2 separate regions of the Homo sapiens genome follow, and region 1 is linked to region 2. The links are contacts of gene promoters, found by promoter capture Hi-C in blood cells and fetal thymus (Javierre and others, 2016). All regions are on one chromosome and are shown on one strand. Each heading gives the region's core, a stretch centred on a gene start or on the middle of the fragment in contact. The rest is flanking DNA. Distances are from core to core; before and after follow the strand shown. Region 1 holds the start of PPP1R12C (protein phosphatase 1 regulatory subunit 12C). Region 2 holds the start of LINC01530 (long intergenic non-protein coding RNA 1530).

Region 1 (4,020 bases), core at 564-3,063, 3.5 Mb after region 2:
CCGGCCCTGGGAATATAAGGTGGTCCCAGCTCGGGGACACAGGATCCCTGGAGGCAGCAAACATGCTGTCCTGAAGTGGACATAGGGGCCCGGGTTGGAGGAAGAAGACTAGCTGAGCTCTCGGACCCCTGGAAGATGCCATGACAGGGGGCTGGAAGAGCTAGCACAGACTAGAGAGGTAAGGGGGGTAGGGGAGCTGCCCAAATGAAAGGAGTGAGAGGTGACCCGAATCCACAGGAGAACGGGGTGTCCAGGCAAAGAAAGCAAGAGGATGGAGAGGTGGCTAAAGCCAGGGAGACGGGGTACTTTGGGGTTGTCCAGAAAAACGGTGATGATGCAGGCCTACAAGAAGGGGAGGCGGGACGCAAGGGAGACATCCGTCGGAGAAGGCCATCCTAAGAAACGAGAGATGGCACAGGCCCCAGAAGGAGAAGGAAAAGGGAACCCAGCGAGTGAAGACGGCATGGGGTTGGGTGAGGGAGGAGAGATGCCCGGAGAGGACCCAGACACGGGGAGGATCCGCTCAGAGGACATCACGTGGTGCAGCGCCGAGAAGGAAGTGCTCCGGAAAGAGCATCCTTGGGCAGCAACACAGCAGAGAGCAAGGGGAAGAGGGAGTGGAGGAAGACGGAACCTGAAGGAGGCGGCAGGGAAGGATCTGGGCCAGCCGTAGAGGTGACCCAGGCCACAAGCTGCAGACAGAAAGCGGCACAGGCCCAGGGGAGAGAATGCAGGTCAGAGAAAGCAGGACCTGCCTGGGAAGGGGAAACAGTGGGCCAGAGGCGGCGCAGAAGCCAGTAGAGCTCAAAGTGGTCCGGACTCAGGAGAGAGACGGCAGCGTTAGAGGGCAGAGTTCCGGCGGCACAGCAAGGGCACTCGGGGGCGAGAGGAGGGCAGCGCAAAGTGACAATGGCCAGGGCCAGGCAGATAGACCAGACTGAGCTATGGGAGCTGGCTCAGGTTCAGGAGAGGGCAGGGCAGGGAAGGAGACAAAGTCCAGGACCGGCTGGAGGGGCTCAACATCGGAAGAGGGGAAGTCGAGGGAGGGATGGTAAGGAGGACTGCATGGGTCAGCACAGGCTGCCAAAGCCAGGGCCAGTTAAAGCGACTCCAATGCGGAAGAGAGTAGGTCGAAGGGGAATGGTAAGGAGGCCTGGGGCAGAGTGGTCAGCACAGAGTGGCTAAGCCCAGGGCCAGTTGAAGCGGCTCCAATTCGGAAGTGGGGTGGTCGAAGGGGAATGGTAAGGGGGACTGGGACGGGGTGTCAGCATAGGGTGGCAAAGCCCAGGGCCAGGAACGACGGGGCGGATCGAGACTGGCAACGGGGAAGGAGGATGCCCCAGGTGGCGCAGCAGAGGGTGGACCTGGCCCCGGGAGACGCCGGGCGGGGGGCGCTGACCTGGTGCAGGGCGCTGATACCGTCGGCGTTGGTGGAGTCCAGCACGGCGCGGGCGGGCGGCGGCGCGGCGGGGTCGAGCTCGGCGCCGGGGCCAGGGTCGGCGGCGCGCAGCATCAGACGCGCCTCGTCCAGGTCGCCGCCCGCACAGGCCGCCAGGAACTCGGCGGCGCGCTCGAAGCGGACGGTGCGGGCGCGGCGCTCTCCGGGGCCAGGCTCGGCGCCCGCCCGCGCCCCCCACTGCCGCAGCTGCTCCCGTCGCCGCTCCCGGGCAGCCGCCGCCGCCGCCCCCGGGCCAGCCGCCGGGCCATCCTCTCCGGACATCGCACCGCCCGCCCGCCCAGCGAGCGAGCGAGCGCCGAGCCCCAACCGCCGCCACCACCCGCCCGCCCGCCCGCCCCGGGGGCCGCCGGGAACTGCCGCTGGCCCCCCACCGCCCCAAGGATCTCCCGGTCCCCGCCCGGCGTGCTGACGTCACGGCGCTGCCCCAGGGTGTGCTGGGCAGGTCGCGGGGAGCGCTGGGAAATGGAGTCCATTAGCAGAAGTGGCCCTTGGCCACTTCCAGGAGTCGCTGTGCCCCGATGCACACTGGGAAGTCCGCAGCTCCGAGGCGCCCAGTGGAAATCGCCAGATGAGGGCCTCCTCCGGGGAATGCTGGGAAATGGAGTCTACAGGCCGGAGGGGTGCCCCACGGCATACTAGGAAGTGTGTAGCACCGGGTAAAGGGGATGAATAGCAGACTGCCCCGGGGCAGTTAGGAATTCGACTGGACAGCCGCGTGGGAGGGAGTGCGGGGAGAGGCAGAGTTGTTTTGTTATTGTTGTTTTATTTTGTTTTCTTTGTTTTGAGACGGAGTCTCGCTCTGTCGCCACGCTGGAGTTCAGTGGCGCGATATCGGCTCGCTGCAACCTCCGCTTCCCAGGTTCAAGCAATTCTGGCTCAGTCCCCAGAGTAGCTGGGATAACAGGCGCGCGCCACCCCGCCCTGCTAATTTTTATATTTTTAGTAGAGACGGGATTTCACCATGTTGGCCATGATGGTCTTGATCTCTTGACCTCATGATCCGCCCGCCTCGGCCTGTAATCCTGCTGGGATGACGAGCGTAAGCCACCATGCCCAGCTGGGTTTTATTTATTTTGGTTTTTTTCCTGACCCCTTAACTAGAAATAAGCTCCACGAGAGCGGGATCTTTTGTCTTCTGTGCACTACTTGTCCTCGGTTCTTAGAACAGAACCTGAGAGAACCTGATCGCAAATATTTTTGGAATGAATGAATGAATGGGTTCACCAGGGCACCATGGGAAACTGAGTCCGCAACCTAGAAGCCATGAAAGACAGTCCACTTCCAAGCTTCCCTGGGTGACCTCGCAGGGCATGCTGGGAAATGAAATTTGCGGTGAAAAGGTCAGGACCACGATCCTAGGGCACGCTGGGAAATGTAGCCCACAGGGCCACACCCCTAAAAGCACAGTGGGGTGCAAGGCAGGGCCCCAAGGCATTTAGGGCTCGGGGCAAGAGAAATCCACACTCCACTCCCTAATGGTAATCCCTGAGCCACACCGAGTAAAGGAACCCAAGACACAGTGTCCACAGGGACAGGGCTCTCAGAGCTTTCACTGGCCCGCGCTTCTCCTGCGCCCACCCGGACCTCCTGGGAACCGCCCAGGCCCTCGCGCGCTCTCAAGGCATGCTGGGATTGGTGGTCCCGGGCAAGGAGTTCCAGCAGGTGGGGGGCGAATCACCTTTCAGCGGGCCCAAGCGATGAGCACACCTTGATCTTCACCTTACGGATCCCGCGCCCAACTCAAGATTGGGAAGGTGGCTGGCACTTTGTGACAGGAAGAGTCCCATAAAAATCATACAGAAAAGGGCCAAAATCGGGACAGAGACTACAGACTGTTTCCCAAGCGCTGTGGGAGTTTCCCACCCACTCTGAAGTCCTTGGGTTTGCGCGGAGACGTAAACTGCGCATCCCACGAGGCCTGTTTCTTTCCCTCTCTCTTTCTCTTTTGTTGTTGTTGTTGCTGCTGCTGTTACGAAAATTTTTGTGGTTTTATTGTATCATGAGGCATTGAAACATCCGGCGACTCAATGTCTAGGCGGTGAGGCAGCCGCTTTCTCCTTCACTTTCTTTGGGTTAAGTAGAGCAACTTGTCAGTAGTTTTGTTTTTTTTTGTTGTTGTTGTTGTTTTTGAGACGGAGGCTTGCTCTGTCGCCCAGGCTGGAGTGCAGTGGCGCGATGTCGGCTCACTGCAAGCTCTGCCTCCCGGGTTCAAGCGATTCTCCTGCCTCAGCCTCCTGAGTAGCTGGGACTACAGGCGTGCTCCACCACGCCCGGCTAATTTTTGTTTTTTAGTAGAGACGGGGTTTCACCATGTTGGCCAGGCTGGTCTCGAATTCCTGACCTCGTGATCCGACTGCCTCGGCCTCCCAAAATGCTGGGATTACAGGCGTGAGCCGCCGCGACCGGCCAGATTTTTTTTTTTTTTAAAGGACAACCTTTTGCATTACTTAAGTCTTTCCAAGGCATGCGCTGGTACAACACAAACTTTTCCCATTACATGCAGCTAGTCTAGTGTCCAGACGTCATGCACAACACCTCCGTGGCATCAGCGCACTGCGCCC
Region 2 (3,676 bases), core at 729-3,228:
TTAGAATGGTGGCTGTCCACCATGAGTACAACACAAATGCTCGTTCTTAATGATTCAACAAACATGGAATTTCATTAAATCTGAAATAAAGGTATTTTGAGAAATTGAATTCCGTTATCAAGTGTGAAGTCCTGATCCAGACTCACCTCGTGCACACTATTTACCACAAAGGTGGACTCCCTATTTTAAATGCATTCACTTAAAGAGACCTTTCCCTGTACTAATTAGTGTTTGTTAAGAAGGACCTTCTGGACATAGTTGAAAGAAAGAGAAAAGAAGCAGGTGTGGGGAGGAGGAGAAGGAGAAGGGAGGAAGGGAGGGAGGGGAAAGAAGATGGATGGACAGATGGAAGGAAGGAATTAGGGATGGCAGAAAGGAGATAAAATAAACTCTACTTTTAAAAGAAACCAGGTGGGGTGAGTGGGAGGGCTTCCCTGTGACCTTGGCCTCAGGGGCTCTTTCTGGCTTCCAGATAAGATACCCCTCAGCTTTGCACTGGGTCTCCTGAGGCTTGGAAGTTATGTCCACAGTGAGGTTGGTGTAGAGGGGCAGCCACTCTTTGGAGAGCAACCTGTAGCCCAGACAGTTGATGCCATCATCAGAGGATCCAGGGATCGGAGGATTGGCGGATCCGGGACAGAAGGCGAGGCCTGGAGGATGGGGAGGGGCAGCCATGTGAGCCTCAGGGAGGACCCAGAACCAACCACCCCACTTCCAACACTGATTCACCTCCAGGGCCTCTGCTTGTGGCCAGGATCTTCCCCCTCCAGCATATGGTAGCCTCTGAAAAGCAGGTGGGGCTGGGAGAGGAGCATCCCGCTTAGTTTCACCCTTCCAGAGACACAGGAAGGCATGGAGGCCAAACACCTGTCTCTGACAGGGTCCCCATGCCACAGCCCAGCCCTCCAGTCCAGGGTAGCCCATGTCCCCCTCAGCCCAGGGCGGCCCATACCTGCCTCATCATGTCAGGACCTGCAGCTCCTGCCTCCCACCTGGCAGTGATGTCATCCTCATCATCCCAACCCCACTACACGTTGGAGAAGCCATTTATCTTCAGGTAGTGAGTGGGGTGCAGGGCAAACACCCCTCCAAGGCACAAGCTAACGGCTTAATTGCTGTTGTTTCCCCATGTTCTGGCTTGCAGCACTTGTAACCTCTGGGCTCCTGCAGCCCTTAACATCTGATACCTTTACATTAAGATTTATCATCCTTATCTCTGGACCAGGCTGAATACACCTGTGTCCCGGTGCATCTGGCCAGCGGGTCAAAGGGCCTAGCACACAGATTAACAAATGAATGAGTTCCAGTTACCAAAGTTCAATCCTTGAGGTGGACAGAAGACGCCCAAGGCGTGTCTCCCATCACCCTTCACTCTCAATCCTCCTTATCAAGGGCCTCACGGGAATAGTGATAAGATCTCAGAATATACAGGAGGGAGCAGTTTCGGGAAGGGGGGCATTGGAAGGAAGTGGAGGGCTTGGATCTGGGGAGCAAGCGGGGAGAGTGCTCCGTTCCTTGGTTTTGGGATCTTGCCTTACGGGTCTCACCTGCCCTCCATCCTGGCTTCCACCTGGCAGGGTGTGTTTGTGTCAGAAAGACGATTGTGCGTAACTGTTCACCGCGTCCACGTCCCGAGAGTTGCGCACGCGTGGAGATCTGCAAAACGCTCCCTTTCAGCTCCGCGCATGCACAGAGACCCCACCCCGCAAGTCCTTGCCCTTCGGCCTGGGCAGGCGTCCACTCCCATGGCTGCAGGGCGCGCCGAAGAGCCCACTCTGCATCCCCGAGACGCGGCCCAATCCTAGGAATGTGCTTAGCGCAGGTGCTATCTTCCCTTTTCACATTCCCAATCTCTTTCTCCGCCCCCTCAAACTCTTGCCATACTCCCACAACAGCAGAAAATCTGAAAAAAAAGTCCATCCCATCTTTGCACTGACAGCAGTGCACAGCAGCTGGCAGAGAATTCTGGCACGGCTATTGTGCTTGCGCAGGCGCAGACGGGAAGCGGGCCGGACCGGCCTAGTACACTCTGGGAGGCGTGCGCAGAATGCGCAGCGCTGCCGCGAGGATCTCTGGGAACTGTAGGCCCAGTTTGTCCGAGAGCCGCAAGTGTTTCGGGACGACGCAACGCAGGGGCACCTGGGAGTCGTAGGCGGATGGGCCCAAAGCCTTCCGGGAGTCGTAGTCCTTCCGCCCGCTCCTCGTTTCTTTGGAGGTTGGCCCTTCCAGCTCCAGTTCTGCCCAGGTGAGCGCCCATCCCGCGGCCGGCCGGTCCTGGCCCTTTGTCGCGATGACGTGGCGGAGTTGAGGGTCTCTGTATTTCTCTCCCCCGCGTTCTGGTAGGCGTCCCTGGAAAGATGGCACCCTTTTCCGTGATCTCTCAATCCCTCTCTCCGGGTGGGAGTGCTCTAAGCAGCTGTTGTACCTGCTGACCCGCTTTGGATTCTGCGGCCCAGCCTGACACCTTCTCACTCTCGCCCTTCAACCTGGGTGCAGTGCGAGTGCACCCTCCTCTGTCCTGGTTACAACACAGAGTGGTCAGGGCTGGCCCAGGGGGTGCTCAGGAGGCTGTGGGAACACAGAGGAGGTGCTAGACCCAGCCCAGGGTTCAGGAAAGACCTTACAGAGCAAAGGACCTCAAATCTACCACATCCAAACGAAATCCCAGATTCCCTGTCCTAAACCTGCTCCTCTCACAATCTTTCTGCCTCCTCCCCACTAACTGTCCATCCAAGTGCTCAAGCCAAAATCTTGGAATGGTCGCCAGTGTTCTGTTTCTCTCATCCGCTTCCCTCCCGCAACCAAATCTTGTGTGAGTCTCATCGTCTCTATCTCCAGAAGAGGCCCAGAATCTAACCACTTCTCTCCACTTCCACTGTCTCCATTCTGCTCCGAGCTACCGTTACTCCTCACCTGCATCACTGCAGGGGCCTCCTCACTGTTCTGTTTCTTCCCTTGCCACACTCCACCCTCTATTCAGGCACAGTGCCAGGAAGCCTGTGGAAATATAAATCAGATCCTGTCACCAGTCACTACCCTGCCCCCCAGCTTAAAATCATCCAGTGGTTCCCATCTCAGAATAAAATCCAAGCTCCTTATCCTGCCAACCTCTAAGCTTCTGGTCCTTTCTGGTCGTCCTCAGTCACAACACACTTTCCAATGGGCTGAACACAGCCAGGCCCTGCCCTTCATGTCCTTTGCATTTGCTATTAACTCAATTTGGAGCATTCTTCCCACCCTGACCCAATATCTGTCTACTCATTTTGTTGGCCTCAGCTCAAAGGCCTCCAGCCACCCTAAAGAACCCCCTCCCTGTTCCCCCCCCCCCAGTCATACCACCAAAGATAATTCCCTCGTATTTGGAAAGCATCTTAGTCATTTACTTCCTTATCCATGGCCTGGTTCCTCCATTAGAACATCAGTGCCCTGACAGCTGCAACCTTTCCTATCTTGCTCACTGCTGTGTCCCAGTACCTAGAGCATGCTGGGTACATAGGCGGCACTCAGTGGGTATTTGTTAAATGAATGAATGAAAGTTTGAGCTGAGACTTGAAGGTAAGAGTTAGGTCTACCACAGTGTTTAGGGAAGTGTCTTGCGCAATGAGATCAGCCTGGCCAAAGATGCAAGGGGTTGAAAAACCAATGGGAAGTTCATCTGGCTGAGGTGAGTAGGTAA

What was found. Contacts are between HindIII fragments. The CHiCAGO score rates a contact against its expected background, and 5 or more counts as called.
Region 1: a contact is called between the fragment with the promoter of PPP1R12C here and the fragment with the promoter of LINC01530 in region 2, in 2 of 17 cell types (non-activated CD4 T cells and total CD8 T cells). The highest score is 11.3, in non-activated CD4 T cells.

Annotation. Positions count from the first base shown.
Region 1 is chr19:55,115,824-55,119,843 of GRCh38, forward strand. It overlaps PPP1R12C (protein phosphatase 1 regulatory subunit 12C), which reads right to left and starts at 1,814. Exons shown (of 22, transcript NM_017607.4): 1 at 1,400-1,814. The coding sequence starts at 1,720. RefSeq lists enhancers at 210-1,045, 400-449, 850-929, 1,890-2,169 and silencers at 1,360-1,459, 1,480-1,559, 1,750-1,829. The HindIII fragment of the contact is 6,736 bases long and covers 1-2,743 here.
Region 2 is chr19:51,592,402-51,596,077 of GRCh38, forward strand. It overlaps LINC01530 (long intergenic non-protein coding RNA 1530), which reads right to left and starts at 1,979. Exons shown (of 2, transcript NR_034159.1): 1 at 1,548-1,979; 2 at 1-650. ZNF175 (zinc finger protein 175) reads left to right here. Exons shown (of 5, transcript NM_007147.4): 5 at 1-109. RefSeq lists enhancers at 423-1,058, 1,059-1,694, 1,695-2,330, 2,077-2,386, 2,597-2,646 and a silencer at 2,729-2,896. The HindIII fragment of the contact is 8,842 bases long and covers 1-3,113 here.